Regions from separate parts of the Homo sapiens genome. Here all the other regions are linked to region 1. Evidence: promoter capture Hi-C in 16 types of primary human blood cells and fetal thymus (Javierre and others, 2016). All regions are on one chromosome and are shown on one strand. The core of a region is centred on a gene start or on the middle of the fragment in contact, and the rest is flanking DNA. Distances in the headings are between cores, read along the strand shown. Region 1 holds the start of ZNF77 (zinc finger protein 77). Region 2 overlaps GNG7 (G protein subunit gamma 7). Region 3 has its middle 11 kb from the start of CELF5.

Region 1 (5,096 bases), core at 988-3,487:
GCAAAAGATTGGAAACAAGTCCACTGTCTATTTAGAGAGACCTTGTTACATCAGCTTACATCATCTTACATCTGTAAGGAGTAAGGAAGTCACCTATTAAGATGAAGAGAGGTGGAGGATTTATTTTTTTCATTGAGCCACAAAAACAATTGTAATGCAATGTGTACACCATGGTACTTTTTAAAAATAATAAAGCGGGGGGAAACAAAACGTGTCGTTCAAATGGCGTTTTTTTGTTTGTTTTTGTTTTGAGATGGAGTCTCGCTCTGTCACCCAGGCGGAGTGCAGTGGTGCGATCTTGGGTCTGCAATCCCCGCCTCCCGGGCTCTAGTGATTCTCCTGCCTCAGCCTCCCAAGTAGTTGGGATTACAGGCATGTGCCACCACGCCCGGCTAATTTTTATATTTTTAGTAGAGACAAGGGTTTTGCCATGTTGGCCAGGCTGGTCTCGAACTCTTGACCTCAGGTGATCCACCTGCCTCAGCCTCCCAAAGTGCTGGGATTATAGGCGTGAGCCACTGCGCCCGGCCCTAGAGAATTTCTTAAAGTAAAAGGCTGTACTGTTCCTATGGTAATTGAATTCTTATTTTAACTCATTTGAGAAAATAATCATAGAAGTTTAAATAAATTTGAACTCGACGTGAAAATTCTGAATACTTTTATTCAGTTGAGCCGCAATTCCTAAAGCCTGGAACGCGACTGCTCATCTCCGAAAAGACTTTCCAGCTTGAGACAGAGTAGAAGTATAAACTCTATATCGCTTGCCATTTTACATACAAACATAATTGTCGTAATTCATGTTTTTACTGTGTCGACCTAAATAACAGGCTGTCTAAAAACGGTGGTAACAGTTCATTGCAGTGGGAATATGCGCGGCATAGCAAACTATGTGCTTATTCAGGGAGGTAAAGGAAGACAAAGGTTGTTTTTGGTTTTCATTTTTTTGAGACGGGGGTCTCTGTTGCCCAGGCTGGAGTACAATGGTGAGATCACAGCTCACTGCAGCCTCAATCCCCACGGGCTCGAGCGATCCTCCTGCTTCAGCCTATCAAGTCGTTGGGACCATAGGCGCACACTCCTTTATTCCCAGCTAATTTTTGTATTTTTTGTATATATGGGGTTTTGCCATGTTGCCCAGACTGGGACAAAGGTTTATAAAGGAAAAAAAAAATTTTAAATGAGGATTACATCATTTTTCAGAAATAATTATCCTTGTCTACAAAGATCAGTAACAAGGGTCACACCAGTCTGAGTGTCCCTGTAAAAGTATTTTTTGTTTAAGCCTGTGGTTTTTGTAGAGTCTTTTTCGTTATTAAGCATATAAATGTGAGACCTCTCTCTTCATGACCTTACGTGGTTCTGTTTGTGGGAGGGCTGCTTTTTTTTTTTTTGAGACTCAGTTTCGCTCTTGTTGCCCAGGCTGGAGTGCAGTGTCCTGATCTTGGCTCACTGCAATCTCCGCCTCCTGGGTTCAAGCGATTCTCCTGCCTCAGCCTCCGGAGTAGCTGGGATTACAGGCGCCCGCCACCGTGCCCAGCTAATTTTTGTATTTTTAGGAGAGAAGTGGTTTTCGCCATTTTGGTCAGGCTGGACTTGAACTCCTGACCTCTGATGATCCGCCGGTCTCCGCCTCTCACGGTGCTGGGATTACCGGCGTGAACCACCGCGCCCGGCCGAGAGTTTTAAGAACACAGGGAGCGCCTGGTGGGGTCCGGCCTCCTGGGGCCTCGTCGTCTGGTCTCCAGATCTCCAGGTCTCTGGACCCCAGGCGTCCGCGCCCACGCGGGACAGCACGGTGACGTCACGCACGCGGGTCCCGCCCCCACGCAGGACTCCGCCCCATGGGACTCCGTGCCCTTCCTCTCCTCCCCGCACGAGGGGCCGCTCCGAGGGGAAACTGAGTCTGGAGTTGCCGTGCAGTCAGGGAGGAGGACGCCGCGCCCTCCCTGGACTGGAGTGAGTTCTCCCAGATCCGCGGCTGCCCGGCTAGAGGGTCAGCCACGCGTGTTCTCGACGAGCCCGTCACTGAGGAGAGAATTATCCAATCAGGACAGGCAGGGGCGGGGCCTAGGGAACTGTCCAATCAGAGACGTTAATCCGAAGCGGAGCCCTGCCCAATCAAGGGCGCTAGGGGGACGGACTGGAGAATTCTCCAATCAGGGGTGCGGAGTCGACAGCACTGTCCAATCAGAGTCTCCACTTCCCGAGATCTGTCCAATCAGACCCCGAGGACGGTAAGCCGAGTTCCCCTCTGCCTTGCGCGCTTCCCCGCCTACCCCGAGCGGCTCAGGTGTCCTGTCGTGCTCACCTGCGCCGGTCGCTGGACCGCGGGGCGCTAACCCTGGAGAGCCCAGGAGCGGGCGGGACATGGTGAGTGCCGGGCGGGAGCCGAGCCCGGGCCCAGGGCGAGGTGGGGCGGCAGGAACCGGCTTCCGCCCGAGTTCGCAGCCGGAGAAAGCTGAGGGACGCGCGGGGCGGCGCACGACGAGCGCCTGGGCCCCGGGGACGTGGTCACAGCGGCCGAGGGGTAGGGCTGGGGGCAGTCTGGGGTGACAGCAAAAGCGGTCAGGGGCTCGAGGGGTAGTTTCTGGGGACAGTACAGGTCAGGAGTTTGGGGAGAGCTTGTGGGGACAGCAGAGGTGGTCAGGGGCTTGAGGCAATTTAAGTGGACAGTAGAGGTTTAAGGGGCACAGGGGCAGTTTGCGGGAACAGACACGGTCAGGGGCTCGGCGGCAGTTTGGGGGTTCAGTGGAAGGGAGTCAGGCTCAAGGGCAGATTAGGGGGCCAATAGCAGCGGTCAGGAACTCGGGGACAGTTTGAGGGGGCCGTAGAGGCGGTCATGGGTTTGAAGGGGCAGTTTTGGGGGACAGGTGATCAGGGGCTCGAAGGCAGTTTAGGGGGACAGTAGCTGCAGTCGGGAGTTTGGGGGCAGCTCGAGGGGACAGCAGAAGCAGTCAGGGGCTCAGGGGCACTTTAAGGGGGGCAGTAGAGGCGATCAGGGGCTTGAGGGAAGTTTGGGGGGACAGTAAAGGGAGTCGGGCTCGAGGGATGTGTTGGGGGACAGTAGAGGCAGTCAGGGGATCGGGGAGAGTGGGAGGAGAGGGCAGGAGCCGTCAGGGGCTTGGTGGTCAGTTTGGGAAGGTCTGCCAAGGAGGAGGTGGTGCCCTGTCCTGGAGCCTGTCAAATAATAAAATCCTGGGCCGGGCGCGGTGGCTCACGCCTGTAATCCCAGCACTTTGGGAGGCCGAGGCGGGCGGATCACCTGAGGTCAGGAGTTCCAGACCAGCCTGGACAACATGGCGAAATCCCGTCTCTACTAAAAATACAAAAATTAGCCCGGCGTGGTGGCGGGCGCCTGCAATCCCAGCTACCAGGGAGGCTGAGACAGGAGAATGGCGTGAACCTGGGAGGTGGAGCTTGCAGTGAGCCGACATGGCGCCGCTGCACTCCAGCCTGGCGACAGAGAAAGACTCCGTCTCAAAAACAAAAACCAAAAAAAAAAAAAAAAAAAAAAATCCTGGCTAGAGAAGGAGAGAGAAAAATAGGGATAAGCCCCAGCCTCCGAAACCTGCCAGGTCTCAAAATCAACCAGGAAAAGGCTTTACTTTCATACACAAGAAAAGGTTTGGAGGAACGTTTTAGGGGACAAGCAGAAAGGAGGTTGACAGTAAATGTACCTCCTCGTGGTCAGCTAGCTCAGGGGAGGTGACAGGGGACTCCACACTTACTGCTTGCTCAGACTCGGGGGGGCCAAAGTTCAGGGGCCTGCGGAGAGGACAGAAGGCTGAGTAAAGTTTGGGGAAGAAACGGGAGGCTGCGAACATGTGGTCAAGCTTGTGTAAACCCAAACGTAGTAAGGAAACTTTTATGAAAAAGGATTATTGCGAGGTATTGGGGGAGGGGGAGAAGGGGCTGTTGCAATAGGGAGAAGGGTTAGTTGGATTAGAGGCAGGAGAGTAATGCCAGAGGCTTGAGGTTCTATTGCAGTGGGGTGGGGGTATAAGCAACAGGGGCATGGGGACAGTTGATGATTGAGCTGCGGGACTAATGCTGTAGCCACAGGGAGACAGCTGCAGGGGGAGAGCTCTGTGACCGTCAAGTATGCAGGCATCTGAAGAGTTGGCTAGGCCTGGCGCGGTGGCTCATGCCTGTACTCCCAGCACTTTGGGAGGCTGAGGCAGGTGGATCACCTGAGGTCAGGAGTTCAAGACCAGCCTGGCCAACATGGTGAAATCCCATCTCTACTAAAAAATACAAAAATTAGCCGGGCGTGGTAGTGTGTGCCTGTAATCCCAGCTACTTGGAAGGCTGAGGCAGGGAGAATTGCTTGAACTCGGGAGGCAGAGGTTGCAGTGAGCCATGATCACACCACTGCACTCCAGCCTGGGCACACCTAACCTAGTGAATCATTTCTGATGACAAAGAATGGGATTTCGGAGGGTCTGAATCTGGCCTTGTCATCTGCGTGAATCTTATCTAAGTCGTATGGGAAGGGAGGGTCCTGGCTGTCCCAATTCCAGAGCACAGCAGGACGGGGTTTCACCTTTGCTGGTTTCCAGGAGCACAGAGCTGAAGTCAGTTCAACATTGTCACCTGACAGCTGCGAACAGCCTCGTCTGTGTCCAGCTCAGCATTGGTATTGTTCCTATTTCAGCCCCAGGTTTTAGTAAATGTAAAATAATGAGGCCGGGCATGGGGATGCGCACCTGTGGTCCCAGCCACTTGAGAGGCTGAGGGGGGAGAATCGCTTGAGCCCACGAGTTTGAGGCTGTACCACTCCACTCCAGCCTGGGCAACAGAGCTAGACCCTGTCTGGAAAAAAAAAAAAAAAAAAAAAGAGCCGGGCGCGGTGGCTCACACCTGTAATCCTAGCACTTTGAGTGGCTGAGGTGGGCGGATCACAAGGTCAGGAATTCAAGACCACCCTGATTGACATGGGGAAACCCCGTCTCTACTAAAAATATCAAAATTAGCCAGGTGTGATGGCAAGTGCCTGCAATCCCAGCTACTTGGGAGTCTGAGGCAGGAGAATCGCTTGAACCGGGGAGGCGGAGGTTGCAGCGAGCTGAGATTGTTTCACTGCACTCCAGCCTGGG
Region 2 (5,096 bases), core at 1,647-4,146, 280 kb after region 1:
CGTCCTGCCCACTCAGTTCCCAGAGGAGGAAGTGCAGCCGGGCCTGGGGGGCGGTGGAGGATAGGCCTGTCATCAAATGTCAGGTCCCTGGCTGTCCTGCCCTTGAGGGACATGCCTTAGAGCATTGGGTCTCAACTGGGGGCAAGCCTGCCCCCTGGGGGACACTGGTAATGTCTGGGGACATTTGTGGGTACCGTGACTTGGGGGTGCTCCTGGCCTGGAGTAGGTGGAGACCAGGGATGCTACTCAGCACTGTGCAGTGCCCAGAACGGCCCCACCCCAGAGAATAATCAAGCCCCAGTTTAATAGTGTCAAGATCAAGCCACGTTGCTTTAGTAGGAAATAGATAAAAGCCAGTGGATTTGTTCAGTTTTAAAAACTGGTGCTGGCATGCATATCTTGATAATTTGCAAAATGCCAAAATGAATCATTTTCTTGGCCTGGTCATTCTTCTGATTTGCCCTCAGTGAATGTACCTTATCCATCTGGGCTTTTGCATCTCTCCCAATTATCAGGTTGATAGATATTGGAAAAACAAGAAAATGAAAAATCCAATTGCTGGCTTTTAGGAAAAGGTAATGTTTGACTACACACCTGTCTTTATTTTGTGCTGCTATAATGGAATGCCATAGACTGGATAATTTATAAATAATAGAGATTTGTTTCTTAACGGTTCTAGGGACTGGGAAGTCCAATGTCGAGGTGCTGGCATCTGGTGAGGGCCTTCTTGCTGCGTCAGAGGTGGAAGGGCAAAAGAGCACATATATGAAAGATTGGGGAACTGGGGAAGAAAGAGGAGGGGGGGGAGAGAGAGAGAAAGGGTGAGAGGGAGAGAGAAAGAGAGATGGCATTAATGAGGGTAGGGCCTTCATAACCTAATCACCTCTTAAAGTTCTCACCTCTCAACATGGTGGCATTGGGAATTAAAGTTTCTACAATATGCTTTTTGGGAGACACATTCAAACTATAGCAACATCTGCTTGGAGGAGTCATGTGGATCAGCCCTTCCTTCCCTTTGCAGATGTACCAGTTATCTATCACTGTGTAACAAATTACCCCAACACTTAGCTTAAACAGCAAGCATTTACTATCCTGCAGTTTCTGTGGGTCAGTGGGATATTATATTACTTGCATTATATTTATTATATTATTTGGTCTTTGTCCTGATTTTTTTCTGGTGCAGAACTCCTAAAATCCTTGGAATCTGCAAAGTCATGTCTTTTTGTATGATGATAAGTCGACTGATGGCTGACAGCTTCTAGTTATTTTCAGGAATGGTCTGGCCACCAGAAAGATCAAGGCAGGATGAGAGGGCTGGAACCTTTAGCTGTACCCTCCAGCCTCTGGGGAGGGGAGAAGGGCTGAAGGTTGAGGTGATGACCAGTGGCCAGTGACGCGATCAGTCATGCCTATGAAGTAAAGCCTCCATAAAACTTCAAAAGGACGGGGTTTGGAGAACTTTGAGATAGCTGAGCACATGGAGGTTCCTGAAGGGTAGCATGCCAAGGAAGCTTTGCCCTTCTTCCCTATACCTCATCCTATGCATCTTTTCGTCTGTATTCTTTGTAATATGCTTTATATTAAACCAGTAAATGTGTTTCCCTGAATTCCGAGAGCTGCTGTAGTAAATTAAACCCAACCCTAACTTCAAGCTGGTCAGTTGGAAGTTCTGGAGGCCCAAACTTGCTACTGGTATCTGAAGAGGTTAGGGGCAGTCTTGTGGGGGGATTTAGCCCTCAACCTGTGGGGTCCAAGGCTGTCTCCAGGTAGATAGCACCTGAATTGAATTGAACTGAATCGAATTAGGGGACAGCTAGCTGGTGTGTGGGGAAACTCCTCTCACATTTGGTCACAGAAATATCTTGGGTTGATTTTTTTTTTTTTTTTTTTTTGAGATGGAGTCTCGCTCTGTCGCCCAGACTGGAGTGCAATGGTGCAATCTCTGCTCACTGCAGCCTCCGCCCCCCAGGTTCAAGTGATTCTCCTGCCTCAGCCTCCTGAGTAGCTGAGATTACAGGTGCCCACAACCACGCCTGGCTAATTTTTGTATTTTTGGTAGAGACAGGGTTTCACCGTGTTGGTCACGCTGGTCTCAAACTCCTGATCTTAAGTGATCCACCTGCCTTGGCCTCTGAAAGTGCTGGGATTACAGGCGTGAGCCACTGCACCTGGCCATGTTGATTGCTGTTGATGTGAGAGCAAGAGGAAAAGCAATTTGAGTTTGAGTTTTTTCCACCCTCACTCAGGAGTTAGGAAGCAGCTCCACTGGGTGATTCTGGCAGTGAATGTGCTGGGGCTGTATCATCTGAAGGCTCGATTGGAGCTGGAGGAGCTGCTTTCAAGAGGGCGCCCTCATGTGGCTGTTGGTGGAGGCCTCAGCTTCCAACTGGCCTTGACAGGAGGGCAAAATGCCCAAATGAGTCGTTCCTTCCTTCTTTCCTTTTTTCCTTCCTTCCTTCCTTTTTTTTTTTTTTTTTTTTTAATGGAGTCTCACTTTGTCAGCCAGGCTAGAGTGCAGTGGCACAATCTTGGCTCACTGCAACCTCTGCCTCTTGGATTCATGCAATTCTTCTGCCTCAGCCTCCCGAGTAGCTGAGATTACAGGCATAATTACAGTAATTAGCCAATTACTGGCTAATTTTTATATTTTTTTTTAGTAGAGATAGGGTTTCACTGTGTTGGCCAGGCTGGTCTCAAATTCCTGATCTCAAATGACCTGCCCCAACCTTGGCCTCCCAGAGTGCTGGGATTATAGGCATGAGCCACTGTGCCCAGCCTGGAGGGCCCATTTCTTTCTTTCTTTCTTTCTTTCTTTCTTTCTTTCTTTCTTTCTTTCTTTCTTTCTTTCTCTTTCTTTCTTTCTTTCTTTCTTTCTTTCTTTTCTTTCTTTCTTTCTTTCTTTCTTTTCTTTCTTTCTTTCCTTTTCTTTTTTTTTTTTTTGAGACAGAGTTTTGCTCTTGTTGCCCAGGCTGGAGTGCAGTGGCACGATCTTGGCTCACTGCAACCTCCGCCTCCCAGGTTCAAGTAATTCTCCTGTCTCAGCCTCTCTAGTAGCTGGGATTACAGGCATGCACCACCACGCCCGGCTAATTTTGTATTTTTAGTAGAGACAGGGTTTCTCCATGTTGGTCAGGCTGACCTCGAACTCCCAACCTCAGGTGATCTGCCCGCCTCGGCCTCCCAGAGTACTGGGATTACAGGTGTGAGCCAACGTGCCCGGCCTGGAGGGCCCATTTCTGCAACACATGGATTTCTTCACAGCACTGCCTGCATTTCCCCACAACATGGCAGCTGGCTTCCCCCAGAACACATGACCCAAGAAAGAACAAGCAAAAGTCACTGTGTCTTTATTTATTTATTTGAGACAGGGTCTTCCTCCATTGCCCAGGCTGGAGTGCAGTGGTATGAGCATGGCTCCCCACAGTCTTGAACTCCTGGGCTCCAGTGATCCTCCTGCCTCAGGCTTCCAAGTAGCTGTGATTACAGGGGCACACCATCACGACTGGCTAATTTTTGTATTTTTTGTACAGATGGTGGTGGGGTGTTGGTGGTGGGGGTGTCTCACTATGTTGCCCAGGCTGGTCTTGAACTCCTAGGCCCCCATCCTCCCATCTCAGCCTCCCAACGTGCTGGGATCACAGGCGTGAGCCACCACACCCAGCCTCGTCTACTTTCTAGCTTGTCTTCTTGTACCTTTGAGGGCAGGAACATGGTAAACAGATGAAAAATATACGTCCAGTTTCTCCCTTCCCTGTGGTTTTGGAGCAGGAGGATGAAAAGGTCTTACCCACAGCATCAACCCTTCAATGGAAGGAATTGTGTTTCTCCCACAGGGAATCAGGATTGGAAAGGGATGAGGCTCAGGGAGAATTACACAGAGCCTTGTGGGTGTAACGGGGATGAAGATGTGTTATCTCCCACTTGATGCCATCTTGCAGAAATAAGCTAATCATCTCCAGAATATGCTTTCGTTCACCAAATGGGATTTACACATGCATCCTAGGCTAATCTGCCTTCCACGGATGGCAGGTTCTGTGAGTAATCCGACAGAGGCTAATTGGGACGGATTCCATGAGGACTGCTGTGTGATCCGCTCGCCGCCATGGCCCCTCGGTGAGGAGGATGGCTCTGGTGTGGGTTAATCCAGGCTTAAGTGGCCAGGAGATTTTGATCCTCATGGTATTACATTGTGATGATACTCACAGGGGCTCGGGGGAAAGCAGAAAATCCATTTGGCCAAGACTGACCAGTCTTCTCTCTGGGGCTTATTCAGGAAGCTTGTGGAAGGGGATCCAGTCATAAATGTCAGTGCTTACGGATCATGTTGTCTAAAGTGGGTGTCTCTCCTTTCCTCTTCCTTCCCTCATCCCTCCCTCCCTCCCTCCCTTCCTTCCTTCCTCCATCCCTCCCTCGCTCACACTCATTCCCCTTCCCTTCCTCTCTCCCTCCCTCTCACTCTGTTTTCCTCTCTCTCCCACCCTTTCTCCCTCTTCCTCTCCCTTCCTCTTTCCTTCCCTCCCTCTTTCCCTCCCCTCCTCTCTTTTTTTTTTTTTTTTTTTAAGATGGAGTCTCACTCCTCTATTTCCCAGGCTGGAGTGTAGTGGCGTGATCTCAGCTCACTGCAACCTCCGCCTCCCAGGTCCAAGCGATTCTCCTGCCTCAGCTTCCCAAGTAGCTGGGATTACAGGCAAGTGCCACCATGCCTGGCTAATTTTTGTATTTTTAGTAGAGATGGAGTTTTGCCATGTTGGCCAGGCTGGTCTCAAACTCCTGTCAAACTCCTGACCTCAGGTGATCCCCCCATCTCAGCCTCTCAAAGTGCTGGGATGACAGACGTGAGCCACCGCGCCCGGCCCTCCTCTCCTTTATTTAAAAAAAATCAAGGCCAGGCGCAGTGGCTCACGTCTGTCATCCCAGGACTTTGGGAGGCCAAGGTGGGCGGATCACGAGGTCAGGAGATTGAGACCATCCTGGCTAACCCGGTGAAACCTCGTCTCTACTAAAAATACAAAAAATTAGCCAGGTGTGGTGGCGGGCGCCTGTAGTCCCAGCTACTCGGGAGGCTGAGGCAGGAGAATGGCATGAACCCGGGAGGT
Region 3 (5,096 bases), core at 1,525-4,024, 270 kb before region 1:
AATTTTTGTATTTTTAGCAGAGATGGGGTTTCACCATGTTGGTCAGGCTGGTCTTGAACTCCTGACCTCAAGTGATTCACCTGCCTCGGCCTCCCAAAGTGCTGGGAAAACACGCTTTTTTTTTTTTAATGGTAGCCATCCTAATGGGTGTGAGGGGCACCAGTACTATTTGATGTTTTCCTTGATATCAATCAGCTCTTTTAAAAATGCTTAATTTGCGGCCGGGCGCGGTGGCTCACGCCTGTAATCCCAGCACTTTGGGAGGCCGAGGCGGGCGGATCACGAGGTCAGGAGATGGAGACCATCCTGGCTAACACGGTGAAACCCCATCTCTACTAAAAGTACAAAAAATTAGCCAGGCGTGGTGGCGGGCACCTGTAGTCCCAGCTACTCGGGAGGCTGAGGCAGCAGAGTGGCGTGAACCCGGGAGGCGGAGCTTGCAGTGAGCCGAGATCGTGCCACTGCACTCCAACCTGGGCGACAGAGCCAGACTCCGTCTCAGAAAAAAAAAAAAAAAGCTTCATTTGACCAGGTGGCTGGCGTGGTGGCTCACGCCTGTAATCCCACTACTTTGGGAGACCAAGGCAGGAGAATCGCTGGAGCCCACGAGTTCCAGACCAGCCTGCGCAACAAAGAGAAACCCTATCTCTACAAAATTACAAAAATACAAAAATAAGCCGGGCGCGGTGGCACATACCAGCAGTCCCAGCTACTTGGGAGGCCGAGGTGGGAGGGTCGCTTGAGCCTGGGAGGTCTAGGTTGCAGTGAGCCATGATTGCGCCACTATACACCGGCCTGGGTGACAGAAAACACCTTACTATCTCTTAAAGGAAAATTTACACCACTGGCTGAAAAAAAAAAAAAATTAGCCAAGCATGGTGGCGGGCACCTGCAAATTCCAGCTACTCGGGAGGTTGAGGCAGGAGAATCACTTGAACCCAGGAGGCGGTGGCTGCAGTGAGCCAAGATCACGCCACTGCATTCCAGCCTGCGTGACAGGGCGAGACTCTGTCTCAAAAGAAAAAGAAAGAATTAAATGTCTAGCGTGGAATCAGGGAGGCTGGGCGGTCTCCAGGCTCTTCCAGTGTCTTCTCCCCAGCCCAGGAGGCAGGCCGGCTCCCTGGCTACTCGCTCCCGCTGGGGCTCATCCTCACCTGCTCTGTGGCCTCAGGTAAGTGCCGTCCATCTCTGGACACTGGTTATCCCGGTGACCTAAACCTGGGCCCTTTTCGCCCACTCCACTCAGTATGTGGCTAATGGCGTGGCCCTCAGATTCGTCCAATCCACGTCTGAACCCCTTGTGCTCGGCCTCCATGTTACCATCTGTAACATGAGCATCTGAAAAGCAATTACCCAAGTCTGGGCGCGGTGGCTCACACAGGTAATCCCGGCACTTTGGGAGGCCGAAGCAGGTGGATCACCTGAGGTCAGGAGTTTGAGACCAGCCTGGCCAACATGGCGAAACCCCATCTCTACTAAAAATAACAAAAATTGGCCAGGTTCAGTGGCTCACGCCTGTAATCCCAGCACGTTGGGAGGCTGAGGCAGGTGGATCACGGGGTCAGGAGTTCAAGACCAGCCTGACCAACACGGTGAAACCCTGTCTCTACTACAAATACAAAAATTAGCTGGGTGTGGTGGCACGCACCTGTAATCCCAGCTACTCAGGAGGCTGAGGCCGGAGAAACACTTGAACCCAGGAGGCAGAGGTTGCAGTGAGCCGAGATTGTGCCACTGCATGCCAGCCTGGGTGACACAGCAAGACTCCATCTCAATAAATAAACAAATAAATAAAAATAAAAAAATTAGCCAGGCATGGTGGCGGGTGCCTGTAATCCCAGCTACTCGGGAGGCTGAGGCAGGAAAATCACTTGAACCTGGGAGGTGGAGGTTGCAGTGAGCTGAGATCGTGCCACTGCACTCCAGCCTGGGCAGCAAAAGCGAAACTCCGTCTCAAAAAAAAAAGCAAAAAAAAAAAAAAAAAGCATCTACCCAGGGGCCCAGGCGCGGTGGCTCACACCTGTATTCCCACAGCTTTGAGAGGCTGAGGCGGGAGCATCACTTGAGGCCAGGAGACAGAGGCCAGCCTGTGCAAATAGCAAGACTCCATCTCTACAAAAAATATAAAAAATGAGAAAGATGCATAGAGTGGACAGCACCTCTGGAGAGAAACTGTGCTGGTTTCAAGGGACATTAGCTGATGTTTTATCAACTTAAAAGGCCTCCAGGAAGAGATCATGGCCCCTGGACCTGGCCTCTGGGAGGTAGTACAATACCCTTGCTGGGGGGACGTCTTTGTCTTCCTCGTTCACTGCTGCCCAGGGTTGACCGGGGCTAAGGTGAGGCCTGAGGGCACCGAGGGAGCCCCGGAAAGAGGCCTCACATGTGCCCAACACGGGCAGCTCGATGTCATTTCCTTTCTTTTTTTTTTTTTGAGACAGAGTCATGCTCTGTCGCCCAGGCTGGGGTGCAACGGCACGATCTAAGCTCACTGCAACCTCCGCCTCCTGGGTTCACAGGATTCTCCTGCCTCAGCCTCCCGAGTAGCTGGGACTACAGGTGCGTGCTACCACGCCCGGCTAATTTTTGTATTTTTAGTAGAGACGGGGCTTCACCATGTTGGCCAGGTTGGTCTCCATCTCTTGACCTTGTGATCCGCCTGCCTTGGCTTCCCAAAGTGCTGGGATTACAGGTGTGAGCCCCAGCGCCCGGCCTCGTTTCATTTTCATAACTGTCCTCTGGCTGCCGGTGACCTTTCCAGATTCAGTGAAGGTCAGACACCATTTCTGCTCTCCTTACCCTCCCCTTCCCCCAGGAGGCCCTGCATGGCCTGAAACCTCCCTGCTTCCTCCCTCTCCCTCCTCCCTCTCCCCTTCCTTTCTCCCCCTCCTCCCTCTCTCTCCTGCCTCACTCTCTCCCCCAGCTCACTCTGCTCCAGCCACATGGGCCTCCTCACTGTTCCTCCAACACACCAGGCGCGATCCTGCCCCAGGGCCTTTGCACCGGCTGTGCTCACTGCCTTAACCACTGTCCCCACATTTCCACATGATGTAATAATCCTTGTCATTCCAATTTCACTCAAAAGCCCCCTCCAGGCCGGGCGCAGTGGCTCACGCCCATAAACCCAACACTTTGGGAGGCTGCGACGGGGAATCACCGGAGGTCAGGAGTTTGAGGCAAGCCTGGCCAACATGGTGAAACCCTGTCTCTACTAAAAATAAAAAAATTTAGCCAGGTGCCTGTAGTCCCAGTTACTCAGGAGGCTGAGGCATGAGAATTGCTTGAACCCAGGAGAAGGAAGTTGCAGTGAGCCGAGAACACATCACTGCACTCCAGCCCGGGTGACAGAGTCAAACTCAAACAGGCCGGGCGTGGTGTCACACCTGTAGTCCCGGCACTTCGGGAGGCCGAGGCGGGCAGATCTCCTGAGGTTAGGAGTTCAAGGTCAGCCTGGCCAATATGCCAAAACCTGATTTCTACTAAAAATACAAAATTTGGTGGCATACCTCTCTAGTCCCAGCTACTCAGGGAGGCTGCAGCAGGAGAATCGCTTGGACCCAGGAGACGAAGGTTGCCGTGAGTCAAGATAGGGCCTCTACACTCCAGCCTGGGTGACAGAGCAAGACTGTCTCAAAAAAACAAACAAGCAAACAAAACAAAACCTCAAAGTCCCTCCTCAGGGAGCCTCCAGTGTGGACTCAATTGTAAAACAGCACCCAGCCATTGATCACCATCTGAAGGCAGCCCACCTACTTGACCACTTATTATCCAACTCCCACAGTGGACTGCGAGCCCCATGGCGTCCAGGCCAGCGTCTCTTGCACACGCCTGTATCCCTGAGCCTGGCACAGGACCTGGCAGAGCAGAGTTCAAGTGTTCGCTGAATCGATAGTTGAATGAAACTAATCCGGCCGGGCACAGTGGTTCATGCCTGTATTCCTAGTGCGTTCAGAGGCTGAAGTGAGAGGATTGCTTGAGGCCAGGAGTTCAAGACCAGCCTGGGCAACATGGCAAGATCCAATCTCTACAAAAATATTTACAAAATGTAGCCGGGCATGGTGGCATTTGCCTGCAGTCCCAGCTACTTGGGAGGCTGTGGCAGGAGGATCACTTGAGCCCAGGTCAAGGCTGCAGTGAGCTATGATTGCACCACTGCACTCCAGCCTGGGTGACAGAGCAAGACCCTATTTTATGTTTTTTGAGTCAAAGTCTCGCTCTGTCGCCCAGGCTGCAGTGCAGTGGCATGATCTTGGCTCACTGCAACCTCCGCTTCCCAGGTTCAATGGATTCTTCTGCCTCGGCCTCCCGAGTAGCTGGGACTACAGATGTGTACCACCACCCCCGGCTAATTTTTATATTTTTAGCAGAGACGGGTTTTCATCATGTTGGCCAGGCTGGTCTCAAACTCTGACCTCAAGTGATCCTCCTGCCTCTGACTCCCAGAGTGCTGGGATTACAGACGTGAAGCCACCATGCCGGGTGTGAGACCCTGTCTCTAAAAAAAAAAAAAAAAAGGAAAAATTACCTGTGTATGTTAGCAGGGAAGATGATGGGCTGGCTTTTCCTCTAAAATGGGGTTTGCCTGGGTCCACGATGGGGCCAAAGCCACCTTCTGCCTGCACAGAGGTGGGCAGCCACTGTCCACTCTTGGCCCTGCTAAGCTCCTGGAGAATCACGCAGGACCCCAAGAAGGTCAAACCCCTGGACCCTAGAGCCCCCTGAACTGGTAAAATTTGGTCCAGGGAGGCACAGCCCCCATGCCCCAGGGCCACACAGCACGTGGGGGCCGAACCTGGCCTCTGCTCGCCGCCCAGGGAAGCCCAAGCACTGCCCCCACCATTCCATCCCCAGTGGCCAGCGGCCCCATGCTCCGGGGTCAGGTAAGCACTGCCCCCGCCATTCCATCCCCAGTGGCCAGCGGCCCCATGCTCCGGAGTCAGGTGAGCCTCTTTCTTTTCCTGCAACCCTGCCCTGCCTGCCTTTCGCTCTGGGTCCATCCCCTCCCTCCTCTCCCTCCTGAACAAGCTTCTCCTGCCACATGTTTTGGGGAGGCAGAGACCCCGTGCTGGGTTTGAGGCTCTGTTGCCGATTCCTAG

Evidence for each region. The method cuts DNA at HindIII sites, captures the fragments that hold promoters and counts their contacts. A CHiCAGO score of 5 or more calls a contact.
Region 2: a contact is called between a fragment that was not itself captured here and the fragment with the promoter of ZNF77 in region 1, in 1 of 17 cell types (megakaryocytes). The highest score is 5.4, in megakaryocytes.
Region 3: a contact is called between a fragment that was not itself captured here and the fragment with the promoter of ZNF77 in region 1, in 1 of 17 cell types (megakaryocytes). The highest score is 6.1, in megakaryocytes.

Annotation. Positions count from the first base shown.
Region 1 is chr19:2,942,112-2,947,207 of GRCh38, reverse strand. ZNF77 (zinc finger protein 77) reads left to right here and starts at 2,237. Exons shown (of 4, transcript NM_021217.3): 1 at 2,237-2,370. The coding sequence starts at 2,368. RefSeq lists an enhancer at 1,842-2,001 and silencers at 2,072-2,321, 2,462-2,541. The HindIII fragment of the contact is 3,842 bases long and covers 1-3,835 here.
Region 2 is chr19:2,659,056-2,664,151 of GRCh38, reverse strand. All of the region lies in intron 1 of GNG7 (G protein subunit gamma 7), which reads left to right. Among named protein-coding and RNA genes, the nearest start is that of MIR7850, 31 kb to the right of the region's middle. The HindIII fragment of the contact is 2,766 bases long and covers 1,514-4,279 here.
Region 3 is chr19:3,211,189-3,216,284 of GRCh38, reverse strand. No RefSeq gene overlaps it. Among named protein-coding and RNA genes, the nearest start is that of CELF5, 11 kb to the left of the region's middle. The HindIII fragment of the contact is 4,507 bases long and covers 521-5,027 here.